Regions from separate parts of the Homo sapiens genome. Here region 1 is linked to region 2. The links are contacts of gene promoters, found by promoter capture Hi-C in blood cells and fetal thymus (Javierre and others, 2016). All regions are on one chromosome and are shown on one strand. The core of a region is centred on a gene start or on the middle of the fragment in contact, and the rest is flanking DNA. Distances in the headings are between cores, read along the strand shown.

What was found. Contacts are between HindIII fragments. The CHiCAGO score rates a contact against its expected background, and 5 or more counts as called.
Region 1: a fragment that was not itself captured here is called in contact with the fragment with the promoter of ABHD8 in region 2 in 7 of 17 cell types (naive B cells, naive CD8 T cells, total CD8 T cells and 4 more); the score reaches 11.3 in naive B cells.

What each region holds. Positions count from the first base shown.
Region 1 is chr19:16,767,559-16,774,250 of GRCh38, reverse strand. NWD1 (NACHT and WD repeat domain containing 1) reads right to left here. Exons shown (of 19, transcript NM_001007525.5): 11 at 928-1,125. Among named protein-coding and RNA genes, the nearest start is that of NWD1, 51 kb to the right of the region's middle. The HindIII fragment of the contact is 3,685 bases long and covers 812-4,496 here.
Region 2 is chr19:17,301,372-17,307,823 of GRCh38, reverse strand. ABHD8 (abhydrolase domain containing 8) reads left to right here and starts at 4,399. Exons shown (of 5, transcript NM_024527.5): 1 at 4,399-4,582; 2 at 6,200-6,452. The coding sequence starts at 6,208. It overlaps MRPL34 (mitochondrial ribosomal protein L34), which reads right to left and starts at 1,952. Exons shown (of 2, transcript NM_023937.4): 1 at 1,867-1,952; 2 at 981-1,658. The coding sequence starts at 1,931. The coding sequence ends at 1,445. RefSeq lists silencers at 1,639-1,698, 4,277-4,826, 5,210-5,504 and enhancers at 1,929-2,008, 5,862-6,362, 6,363-6,452. The HindIII fragment of the contact is 14,500 bases long and covers 3,717-6,452 here.

The DNA.
Region 1 (6,692 bases), core at 1,405-3,904, 530 kb after region 2:
GTATGAATGGGTGGGTGGATGAGTGAATGGATGGATAGATGGATGGAAGGGTGGGAGGATAGATGGATGGGAGAGTGGGAAGGTGGATGGATGGATGGATGGATGGGGCAGTAGATGGATGGAAGGGTGGCAGAGAAGATGGGTGGATGAATGGATGGGTGGGTGGGAGGACGGTGGATGGATGGATGGATAGATGAATGGAAGGGTGGGAGTGTAGATAGATGGATGAATGGATGGGAGGGTAATTGGATGGAAGAGTAGGAAGGTGAATTAATGGATGGATGGATGGATGGATGGATGGATGGATGGATAGATGGATGGATGAATGGATGGGTGGGTGGGAGGCTGGTGGATGGATGGATAGATGAATGGAAGGGTGGGAGGTAGATAGAGAGATGAATGAATGGATGGGAGGGTAATTGGATGGAAGAGTAGGAAGGTGAATGAAAGGATGGATGCATAGATGGTTGGATGAATGGAAGGAAGAAAAAAATGAATGACAAATGGATGGCAAAACCTAAATCCTCTCCTCTCCCTTACATTCTGGGATTCCAAGGGCTGCTTACAGTTCCTTCAGCTTCTCAGAGGACTGTCAGGCATCAGTTCCTAGCTTTCAGAATTACTAGCATGAGCTTGTAAATAGCTGAAACTGTCAGATGGGCACCAATCCCTTGGAGATGGGAAGCTTGGAGGCACCCCCTAGCATCGGGCTCATTAGAAGAATTTATATGAGACATCTACAGTCCCTTGAGGTGGGGCAGAGAGAGCTGATTCAGCATGAGACAGCAGGGGCAGGCTCTGATGGCAAGCTTGGGGCCTCCCAACTAGCACAGGGGAGTCCCAGAGGACAACCTCAAACACCTGGCCTTCACTGCCCCCAGGCAAGCAGGTGCCTGCTGGGATTTTTGCTATGCTGGGGAGACTCACCTTTGTGACAGCCGCTGAGAGTTGCCCGGAGGGGTCCTCCCGGGGGCTGGAGGAATCCTCCGAGGGGCACCAGCACAGGGTGTGCGCACAACTGGAACCAGCTCTGGGCCTGTTGGCATAGCTGTCCCACCAGTGCTGGATGTGAGGTGGCGAAGAAATGGAGTCTGGCCAGCAGTTCTGTGTACAGGAGGCTCCTCTCTGCAACAAAGGGATGTAGACTAAGTTGCCTGGATTGAGCCCCCTCTACCCTCCCTGCCAATTGAGTCTCTGCTCCCTGCAGGGGCTCCAGAACAAAAGAAGACACAATACCTCAGCTACTGGCCTCTGCTGTCCGCTCCTGTCTCCTTCTCTGCTCTCCAGACACACTTACCCTTGCTTCAGAGGCACCCAGCTGTTTCCAGTCTCCAGCCTTTGCCCAGGTTGCCTAGAATGCTTCCCTTTCCTTCCTCCCTCCCTTCTTCTCTCCCTCTCTCCCTTCCTTTCTTCCTTCCTCTTTTATCACACTCTGTTGTCCCGGCTGGAGTGCAGTGGCATGATCAAAGCTAACTGCAGCCTCAAACTTCTGGGCTCAAGCAATCCTCCCATCTCAGCCTCCCAAATACTAGGGACTACAGGCATGCGCCACCACACTCAGCTAATTTATTTGTTTGTTTTATTTTATTTTATTTATTTATTTTTGAGATGGAATTTTAGCCTGTCACCTAGGTTGGAGTGCAATGGTGCGATCTTGGCTCACTGCAACCTGCACCTCCCAGGTTCAAGCGATTCTCCTGCCTCAGCCTCCCTAATAGCTGGGACTACAGGTGCCCGCCACCAGGCCCAACTAATTTTTGTGTGTCTAGTGGAAACGGGGTTTCACCATGTTGGCTGGGCTGACCTCAAGTGATCCACCTGCCTCGGCCTCCTAAAGTGCTGGGATTACAGGCATGAGCCACCGCGCCTGGCTATTTATTTTTTTAGAGACAGGGTCTTACTCTGTCACCCAGGCTGGAGTGCAGTGGCACGATCGCAGCTCACTGCAGCCTCAAACTCCTGGGCTCAAGCGATCTTCCGGCCACAGCCTCTATATTAGCTGGGACTGCAGATGCACGTCACCACGCCTCGTTAGTTTTTTATTTTTTGTAGAGACGGGGTCTCGTTATGTTGCCCAGGCTGGTCTCAAACTTCTGGGCTCAAGATATCCTCCTTCCTCGACCCCTCAAAGCTCTGGAATTATAGGCGTGAGCCACTGTGCTCAGACTCAACCTTTTCAATAAAAGTAGGATCAGAGGAGGGATATATTGGAAATCTTTGTACCTTTCACTCAATTTTGCTGTGAACCTAAAACCGTTCTATTAAAAAATGGGCTATTAAGAAAAATTAGCCGAGCATGGTGGCGCGCAGGCCTGTAATCCCAGCTACTCGGGAGGCTGAGACAGGAGAATCGCTGGAACCCAGGAGGCAGAAGTTGGGTGACAGAGCGAGGCTCCTTCTCAAAAAAAAAAAAAAAAAAGGACTCGTGATCGCGTTGGATCATTTAGGATGTTATGTTGAATGGTCCCCATTCGCCAGCGTGCTTGGATGTACGGAGAGCACATGGTTGTCCAGCAGCGCCCTCTGGTGATAACATTTGTTCCTACACCTCCTCCTTGTGCTGGGGGAGCCACAGGTTGTCAATCAAGGGGCTTTGCAGGGAACTTGCTGAGAGATCTGGGCTTTTAAATCTTCCTTAAAATGGGAAGTCATGCCCAAGGCTGTTTTCCTGGGAAGTTGCTCCATCAAGGTTTACAACTCCTGGCGAGCGCCTCTCGCGTTATTTTTCTTTCCAGTTGCCTTAAATTCCAGTTGTTTGGTATGCTGTTCCATCTCCTTCTCTTTATTTATTTGTGTATTTTGAGACAGAGTCTTGCTCTGTCGTGCAAGTTGGAGTGCGGTGGCGTGATCTCGGCTCACCGCAACATCTGCCTCCCGGGTTCAAGCAATTTTCGTGCCTCAGCCTCCCAAGAAGCTGGGATTACAGGCATGCACCACCACACCCGGCTAATTTTTGTATTTTTAGTAGAGATGGGGTTTCACTGTCACCAAGGCTGGTCTCAAACTCCTGGCCTCAAGCAATCTGCCTGCCTCGGCTTCTCAAAGTATTGGGGTTACAGGCGTGAGCCACTGTGCCCAGCCATCTATCTATTTTTAACTAATTAATTTTTTTTTACAGAGATAGGGTCTCGCTATGTTGCCCAGGATGGTCTTGAACTCCTGCCCTCTAGCAATCCTTCTGTCTGGGCCTCCCAAAGTGCTGGGATTAGAAGCGTGAACCCCCGCACTCGGCCCCATCTCCCTCTCTTAAAGGCTGAGACAAACATTAACTATATTTAGGTCCCTGTGGGAGCTGGGGCTATGGCAGATAATCAGTAGGGGTTGTGTGAATGCATAAGAAAGGCATAAATGATTGCAGGCACCAGCATCTTCACATTGGGTGGAGTTCTGGACACATTTTAGTTCAATTGCACATTTTGCAGATGACAAAAATAGGGTTTCAGGGCAGAAATAGCTCATCCTAGGCTATTCATGTCAACAATGCTATCATATGACAGTAACAGGACCCTCGATGGCAACACGGGTGGAGGTTCTGTGTGAACTGATGCGCGTACTCTTCCCAGCAGCCCTAGGTGGGATGGTCACTCAGCATCCCTATTCTGCAGATGGGAAAACTGAGGGCTGTGGGGCAGGGGGAGGGATGGTAAAGGGTTTGCAAGGTCACACTGCCAAGAAGTGGCAGCGCCAAGATTTCAATGGACACGGTGGGGCTCAAAATTTGTGGTCTCTGTGTGTATTTGTCTGTTCTCATGCTGCTAATAAAGACATACCTGAAACTGGGTAATTTATAAAGGAAAGAGGTTTAATTGACCTACAGTTCTGCAGGGCTGGGGAGGCCTCAGGAAACTTACAATCACGGTGGAAGGGGAAGCAAACACGCCCTTCTTCACAAGGCGGGAGGAGAGAGAAGAATGAGAGCTGAGCAAAGGGGGAAGCCCCTTATTTTAAAAAGCCCCATCAGATCTCTTGAGAGCTTACTCAGTATCAGGAGAACAGCATGGAGGAAAACACCTCCATGATTCGATTATCTCCACCTGGTCCCTCCCTCAATGTGTGGGGATTATGGGAAATACAATTCAAGATGATAGCTGGGTGGGGACACAGCCAAACCATATCAATGTGTTAAAGGTAAAAATTTGGCAGGGAGAAAACAGATGATGCCATTGGCCTTATGGAGCTCAGAGTCTGATGTGGCAGACAGATGATGCAAAAGAAAACCAAGAGAAATCATAATTAAAGGCAAAGACAAGCCAGGGGTGGTGGTGTGCACCTGTGGTCCCAGCTACTTGGGAGGCTGAGGTGAGAGGACCACTGGAGCCCAGGAGTTTGAAGGTGCTGTGCGCTATGATCATGCCATTGCACTCCAGCCTGGACAACAGGGCAAGACTTTGTCTCTAAAAAAAGAAAAAAGAAAAAGAGCCAAGACAGATGGAAAACAGGGTGCAGTGATAGAAAATTCAGAGGCAAGGATCGGGGAGACATAGAGAAGTTAAGCTTCAGTGGTGGCCAGACAAGGCTTCTCTGAGGAATCGCATTTAGCTGAGCTCCAAAGTTGCCACAGAAGGGCTGGGGGAGGCGAGTCCCAGCCCAGGGCCCCCGGCACGCAAGCTTGGATGTTTCCATCACTGTCTGGGGCAGTAAGGATGGAGACAAGCATCTCCCAGGAGAGTGAGTCATACACAGCCATGTAGGCTACAGTACTGGAAAGGTCATTATCCCAAGGACAATGGGAGAACCATCTAGAAGATTCAATAGAGATACTTAGTGAGATTTGGGCTCTTTTTTTTTTTTAATGGAATTTTGCTCTGTCGCCAAGGCTGGAGTGCAGTGGTGTGATCCCGGCTCACTGCAACCTCTGCCTGCTGGGTTCAAGCAATTCTCCTGCCTCAGCCTCCCGAGTAACTGGGATTACAGGTGCGTGCTACCGTGCCTGGCTAATTTTTGCATTTTTAGTAGAGATGGGGTTTCACCCTGTTGGCCAGGCTGGTCTCAAACTCCTGACCTCAAGTGATCTGCCTGCCTCAGCCTCCCGAAGTGCTGGGATTATAGGCATGAGCCACCACACCTGGCCATCTGATGGTTTTATAAGGCAATTTTCCCAGCTTTTGTTCCCTGTCTCTTGAACACCTGGCATCAAGTGATCCACCTGCCTCAGCCTCCCAAAGTGCCGAGATAACAGGCTTGAGCCACCCCGGCCGTTTTGGGCTTTCAAGATTCTTCTGAGTGCTGTATGGAAAATAAACCAAAGGGTAAGAATGAATCCAAAGTAGGCAGACCTCCGAGGATGCTGTCTGGAGGAGAGACAGCAGCACTGGCCCTGGGCTGATGGCCAGGAGAATAAAGAGAAGCAGATAGTTCAAGGATGGTTTGCAGGGCCAGGATTAGAAGCTCTGCATAGGAATCACAGGCCACTGGTCATCCTTTTTAACATCCTATTCACATCCATGGGGAAGCACTTTGGATACAGAGACTTAAGCATCTTGAATACTCCCCCTTCCTTTGTGAATTCAGCTCACAATTTATTGCTCTTTGTTAACATGGTATTTAAGGCCCCAGGTCTAAACACTCCTTTGAGTTTTCACTTTTCTGTGAAACTTCTGTGCATGTAAAATTAAAATGTGTGAGCCCTTTCTCCTGTTAAGCTGTCTTAATTCACAGGCCCCTATCACTGAACATAAAAGGGTAGAGAAAAAGATATTATTTATTGTCTCCCATAGTTTGATTATAAAATGGTGTAGCTTTTGTGGAAAATGAAGTGGTCGTTCCTCAAAAAGTTAAACACAAAATTTCCATGTGATCTAGTGATTCCTTTTCACAATATCCAAAAGGTAGAAACACACAAATGTCCACAGACAGATGAACGGATAAACAAAATGTGGCATATTCATACAATGCAATATTATTAAGCCTTTAAAAGGAAGGAAATTCTTAGCCTTGAAAAGGAAGGAAATTCTTAGCCAGGCATGGTAGCTCAAGCCTGTAATCCCAGCACTTTGGGAGGCCAAGGTGGGCAGATCACATGAGGTCAGGAGTTCGAGACCAGCCTGGCTAACATAGCAAAACCCCATCTCTACTAAAAAATACAAAAATTAGCTGCATGTGGTGGCACACACCTGTAATCCCAGCTACTCTGGAGGCTGAGGCAGGACAATTGCTTGAGCAACCCAGGAGGTGGAGGTTGCGGTGAGCTGAGATCGTGCCACTGCACTCCAGCCTGGGTGACAGAGCGAGACTCTGTCGTGCAAAAAAAAAAAAAAAAAAAAAAAAAGGAAGGAAATTCTGACATATGCTACAATGTGGATGAAACTTGAGGACATTCTGCTCAGTAAGAGAAGTCAGAGAATAAAGGACAAATACTGTAAAATACCACTTATATGAAATACCTAAAGCAGTCAAATTTATAGAGACAGAAAATAGCATGGTGGTTGCCAGGGACTGGGGTGAAGGGAGAATGGGGAGAGATATGGGTTGGCTCTGTGTCCCTACCCAAATCTCATCTTGAATTGTAATCCCCATAATCCCCACATGTTGAGGGAGGGACCAGGTGGGAGGTGATTGGATCATGGGGGTGGTTCCCCCATGCTGTTCTCATGACAGTGAGTTTTCACGAGATCTGATGGTTTTTTGGGTTTTATTGGAGACACAGTCTCACTCTGTCACCCAGGCTGGAGTGCATGGTGGGATTTCTGGTC
Region 2 (6,452 bases), core at 3,150-5,649:
GCAACAGAGCAGAGGAGAAACCAGCACTGCATTTTATAGGCGACAAATGCACCTCACAGTGTTAAATTCTTGCTCAAAATCAAACATCCCCAAGGGACAAGTGGAAGATTCAAACTCCTTATGGGCTGGAGTTCAAGACCAGCCTGGTCAACATGGTGAAACTCCCCTCTACTAAAAATACATAAATTAGCTGGGCGTGGTGGCATGCACCTGTAATCCCAGCTACTTGGGAGGCTGAGGCACCAGAATTGCTTGAACCCAGGAGGCAGAGGTTGCAGTAAGCAGGGATCCGACAACTGCACTCCAGCCTGGGTGACAGAGCGAGACCCTGTTTCAAAAACAAACACCCCCCCGCACACACACACAGTTTTCCACCAGTCTTCCCAGACCTATAAAATTTATGACACAGGCTGGGCATGACGGCTCACACCTGTAATCCCAGCACTTTGGGAGGCCGAGGCAGGCAGATCACCTGAGGTCAGGAGTTCGAGACCAGCCTGGCCAACATGGTTGAAACCCCGTCTCTACTAAAAATACAAAAATTAGCCGGGTGTGGTGGTGGGCGCCTATAATCCCAGCTATTCGGGAGGCTGAGGCAGGAGATTGCTTGAACCCAGGAGAGGGAGTTTGCAGTGAGCCGAGATCGTGCCACTGCACTCCAGCCTGGGGGACAGAGCGCAGTGGTTCATGCCTGTAATCCCAGCACTTTGGGAGGCAGAGGAGGGCGGATCACCTGAGGTCGGGAGCTCGAGACCAGCCTGACCAACATGGAGAAACCCCATCTCTACTAAAAATACAAAATTAGCCGGGCGTGGTGGCGCATGCCTGTAATCCCAGCTACTCGGGAGGGTGAGGCAGGAGAATCGCTTGAACCCGCAAGGCGGAGGTTTTAATGAGCCGAGATCCCCCCATTGCACTCCAACCTGGGCAACAAAAGGGAAACTGTCTCAAAAAAAAAAAAGAGTTATGACACATATAAGGCAAGTGGAACTTTGAACATTTATTACACGTTTAATAATATTTCAAAATTATTGATAATTCTTTTGGATGTGATAAGCTTTGTAATTGTCTTTTAATGAGCTCTCATCTTGGAGAGATACATTCTGAAATATTTACAGAAGAAATAATCCGATGCCTGAGATCAGCTTCAAAAGAACTCAGGATGGGGCAGGGACGGGTTGTAGGTAGTCGGTAGTCAGGGTACTGGGTACACGGATGTTCTTTGTACTGTTCTTTGGTCTGTTGCGCAGGTTCGAAATGCTTCCTAATTAAAAAGCCTAAAAAGGGACTTGGCAAGCTCCCATCCAGACTTCAACCCCACAATATGGAGAGCACTCAGGTCCGAGGCGTTCCTGCTCCCCAGCTCCCTGCAAAAATAGCGCCAGGCAAGGTCCGAGGCGAGGGCGATGCTTCCATGAGGGTCCCGCCGACTGCGTCGCGATCCTCAATGGCTCAGCGACTTGCGGCCCTTGAGCATTCGGCGAAGGATGACCTGCACGCCGGCCGGCGTGCTCAGGCGCCGGACCCAGCCGTGCTTGTTCTTGCGTTTGATGTTGCTCGGCTGATACTCATTCCCGCGAGCCTTGCCCCGGGCCTGCTGCGGGGTGGGGAGGCCCCAGGCGTCTGGGAACCCCAGCCAGGCCCGGGGCTGGAGCCACCTGCGTGGGTAGAGGGACGGCGAGAAAGGTCAGACGGGGCGCTGGGTGACCTTGGCGCTCAACCTCTCTGAGCCTCGGCTCCCGGAGACAGAGCCTGGCTGCAAAATGCGCAAGGCACTGGCAGGTCACGCGGGCAGTGAAGAGTGGCGCCAGCCTCCGAAGCCGCCCTTATTCCCTGATTTGGGGAAGGGTCCCCCTGAGGACTTACCTGCCACCCAGCAACGCTGCCGACCTACTCGTGGGGCCCAACAGGGATCCAGCCAAGACAGCCATATCCGCAGTGGGTCCCGCAGTACCGGCTGCGGGCGATTCCGGAGCCCAGAGCCGCTCCAGCCCTGGAACAAAGGATTATGGGAAATGTAGTTTCTCCTAACGTGCAAAAAAGAGGCCGTTGGGGAAAACCCTGAAGTTGTAGTTCTGCGCCTGCGCAACAGAGGCGCGCCAGTCTATATCCGCGGGGCACAGGGATGCTCTGCATACACACCAACAGGTAGCCGGCGAACGGCGCCTTCTGAGCAAGCGCGTGCGCACAAGGCATTATCTCCCGCGGTCAGCTGGCAGCTGAGCTGTAGTTCTCTCTCCTATTGACCGGCAGAGGGTGCCCCGCGGTGGCCGGGCGCAGCTGGTGGCAGCTGCAGGAAGCGGCTGGTTGGTCTTCCCGCCCCCAGCGGGAGCTGGGCAGATGGCACACAGCTGGCTGGCAGCTTGTCCTGGCTGCAGCCAAGTCTCCGCCTCTTGGCAGGAAGCCGAGGAGGCCTGAGTTCAAGCTCGCTGCGTGTCCTTGGGGTGGTCCCTGCGCCACTCTGGGCTTTCTCAATCTGTAAACTCAGGGATTGCAAGCTTGTCTTTGGCAATCTTGCCCCCATTTTGGGCCCTAGAAGAATTCTCCTCTGTTGTTAGAACCAAAAAAAAAAAAAAAAAAAAGGAAGAAAAATTTTCTGATACTCAGATCTGAACCCCTCCCCTACTCACACACTATCCTTGGCTCCCCATTTCCCCAGGTAAAACCTGCTCAGCCCTTCCATCAGGCATGCAAAACCCTCTACACACACCATCTTACATTTCAGCCACACTCTCCTCTCTGCCTGGTGTTCCCCTATCCGCCCTTTAAAAATCCTTTCCTCTCCAAGGGCTGAGTGAGGTGTGGCTCATGCCTGTAATTCCAGCATTTTGGGAGGCTGAGGAGGGAGGATCCCTTGGGGCCAGGAGTTTGAGACCAGCCTGGGGACATGGTAGCAACCACCTATAGTCTCAAGTACTTGAAGGTGAGGTGGGAGGATTCCCTGAACCCAGGAGATCCAGGCTGTAGTGAGCAATGATAGCGCCAATGCACTGCAGCCTGGGCAACGGAGTGAGATCCTTTCTCAAAAAAAAAAGGAGTCGTCTTCTCTCAACCGCTGTCCATTCTTCTGGCCCGACTGCTTTCCCTTGACTCTCCCCCAAGTTCAAGGGCTCCTCAAGGGCCAGGGGCCTGGGGCTGTATCCCTACAAGTGCCAGCTTGGGGTTCATGCAGAGAGGTGTTTGCTAAATGAATAAACTGTATAGTCTCCCAGAAGTGCCCTTAGTGGGCAAGAGTAGGTGTCTGGACGGAATCCAGCTCTGGCAGCAAATTCCAGGGGATGTGAGTGGCCAAGCAGCAAGGAGCATTTAACCCCTCGTCCTCCGAAGCCCATCCTACCTGTAGCATCGTTTAGCAAAACATCACCACTATAATAATGCCCATAATATATGGAGCATTTGTTATATGCACGACACTATGATGAGTGCTTTACCTGCGTAGCAAACTTATGAGAGGATTAATTTCATAGAGAAATAAACGGAGGCTCAGGAAAGTGAAGTAACTTGCCCGAGGTCACACATCAGCAAAGGGCAGAGGCTGGATTTGAGACCTGAGCTCTCCTGAGGGCCTACCATGGCCCCGCCGGTACCACAGAGCTGGGATGCCTGCCTCTTGCTATCAGCCCTTCTCAGAACCATGGCAGCCATGGGTTAAATCGGCTGATTATGAAATTCAAACTCTCTAATTACCCACAGCTCCAAGACTTTCCTTGAAAGCTTTAGAGAAGCCCGTCACGATGGCTCACGCCAGTGATCTCAGCCCTTTGGGAGGCCGTAGACGAGAGGATTGCTTGATGCCCAGAGTTCGAGACCAGTCTGGGCAAGATAGCGAGACCTCGTCCCTACCAAAAGAAAAGGGGGGGGCGTAGGGGGGAGGTTAGCAAATAATGGTTCCCAGGGTTTGGAATCACACAGCCTTGGGTTCAAGTCCCAGCTTTGCTCCTTGCTTGATTTATGCTCTTGTGCCCTTTATGAGCCTCAGTTTCCCCACCGGAGATTGGAAAAAGATCTTGGAGTCTCTGCTTCTAGAATGGAAAGGTCAATACAGAGAGAAGAGTATGGGGGCCTCGTTTGGAGAGGAACAGGGCAATTGGGAGGCAGGGGCTGGGGGGCAAGGGCTTGGGAGACCCATTTGCAGAGAGAGGGCCCCGGCCGCACACTCCCAGGCGTCCCGCAGACCCTAGACTGCAACCCCCTTCTCCGCCTTGAGCCAGGCCCCATCCCTCCCCCAACCTCGGTGAACCCCCAAAAGGGGCGGGGCCGTTGCTCCCAGAGCCCGCCTCCACTACGGAATTGCCGCCTCTCATTGGGCTCCTAACTAGGCCAGGTCAGTCCGCAGCTGCGATAGGCCGAAGTGCCCGCCCGTCGGCACGTGGCTCCGCCTACTCGGGGGAGGAACTTAAAGGGCCGGCTGTTTCGGCGGCCGCGGGATGCCCCTGCGCTGACCGCCAGGGGCAGGTGCCCGCCCGCGTAGACGCACCCGGCCTGACCCCGCGCCACCATGTAAACGGCGCCAGCAGGCGGACGCTGGCTTCTCCGCCTGGGACCCCTCCGCCCCGACCCGGGCCCCGCGGCCCTCGATGAGGTGAGCGGGGAACGGGCCCCAAAAGGAGAGATCGAAGCCCCGGGGCCTCCACTTCGGAGGAGTGGTGTCCACCAACCCCGCGTTTGGGCTCGTAGGAAGCCACGGAGCCCCAGTGGGCTCGACCCCGCTGCAGGGATGACGAACACCTGGAAGGCGGGGGCCGGGGGCGGGGAAGCGGGGCTGGGGTGGCGCCTGTGCGTTGCCCTCCACAATCCGGGATTAGGGCCCCACTCGAGGTGGGGGGCATGGCCTGCTTCCCCTCCAGTATGTCTGGGGCCACTGCGGCTCAGTCTCGGGCGTGCGTTACCTTAGCGGCGCCCAACCTGGGGTAGGGGGCAGGCAGGCAGCTGGTCCCATCTCCAGGCCCTAGACACCTCGACAATGGGGGTGCACTGCTCGGGTATCCCCCCCTTAGGTTATGTAACCGCCTGTGGTTGCCATGGACACGGGGGCGGGGGTGGCCCAAGGAGTGGGATGGAGGCTTGGAGGCCCCCAGCCAGGGCCCTGCCTCTCCCATCCTCTTCGCCACCTCTGGGGACTTGTATAGCAGATCCCCAGAATCCAGGGTGCCAAGGAGGAAGTTCAGAGTCTAGCTTCCTCTCAGAGTGTCTGGGCCTCAGCTTGGCCCTCTATGAAACAGACCCCGGCTCACCCCGGTCTAGGGGAGCTGAGCAAGGCTTTCTGTGGCTCAGTCCCCATCCCCCTCTCCTAGGGCCTCACCTTTCAGGAGTCAAATTCAGAGCCAGGAGCCTCACTGGGGGCTCACCAAAGATTTGCATATTTTAGATGCCTTAGGAGGCCCTGGGGATATGTGAGTTAGTGAGTGCATACCTGGATGAGTTAGTGAGTTAGTGTATACCTGAATGAATGAGTTAGTGTATACCTGAATGGATGAGTTAGTGTATACCTGAATGAATGAGTTAGGAGGCCATAAATGGTATAAACTCCAGCTGGGGGGAGGGGGTGTCTTCCGGCTGGTCCACATTTGCCACAATGTCCCCTTCTCCAGGAACATCCCCACACAAGACGCCACCACCTTCCCTGTGGACACCCTGTGGGGTAAGCCATAGCCAAGTCTTTCTCTCTGAGGATAGACTAGGGTGACCCAGGAGGGTAACTACCACAAAGGCACTGCTCAGACAAAACATGTCAGTGCACGGTGGCTCACACCTATAATCCCAGCACTTTGGGAGGCCGAAGCAGGAGGAAAATTTGAGGTCAGGAGTTCAAGACCAGCCTGGCCAACATGGTGAAACCCCATCTCTACAAAAAATACAAAAATTAGCTAGACATGGTGGCACCTGCCTATAATCCCAGCTACTCAGGAGGCTGAGGCAAGAGAATCGCTTGAACCCAGGAGGGGGAGGTTGCAGTAAGCCGAAATCCGGCCACTGCCCTCCAGCCTGGATGACAAAGCGAGACTGTCTCAAAAACACACACACACACACACACACACACACACACAAACAAAAAAATCTCAGTGCCGTGGCTCACTTGATCTGGCGCTCCCCAAACTGGAGTCTAAAACAGTTCTCCCAAGGCTCAGGGAGTGCCTGCTGCACGGTGCAGGGTTCTCATTGAGACAGCACCTGAACTGGCTGCTGTCCTCACTCACAGGACACACCATGCTGACCGGGGTGACCGACGGTATCTTCTGTTGCCTGCTGGGCACGCCCCCCAACGCCGTGGGGCCACTGGAGAGCGTCGAGTCCAGCGATGGCTACACCTTTGTAGAGGTCAAGCCCGGCCGCGTGCTGCGGGTGAAGCATGCAGGACCCGCCCCAGCCGCTGCCCCACCTCCACCATCATCCGCATCCTCGGATGCAGCCCAGGGGGACCTCTCCGGCTTGGTCCGCTGTCAGCGCCGGAT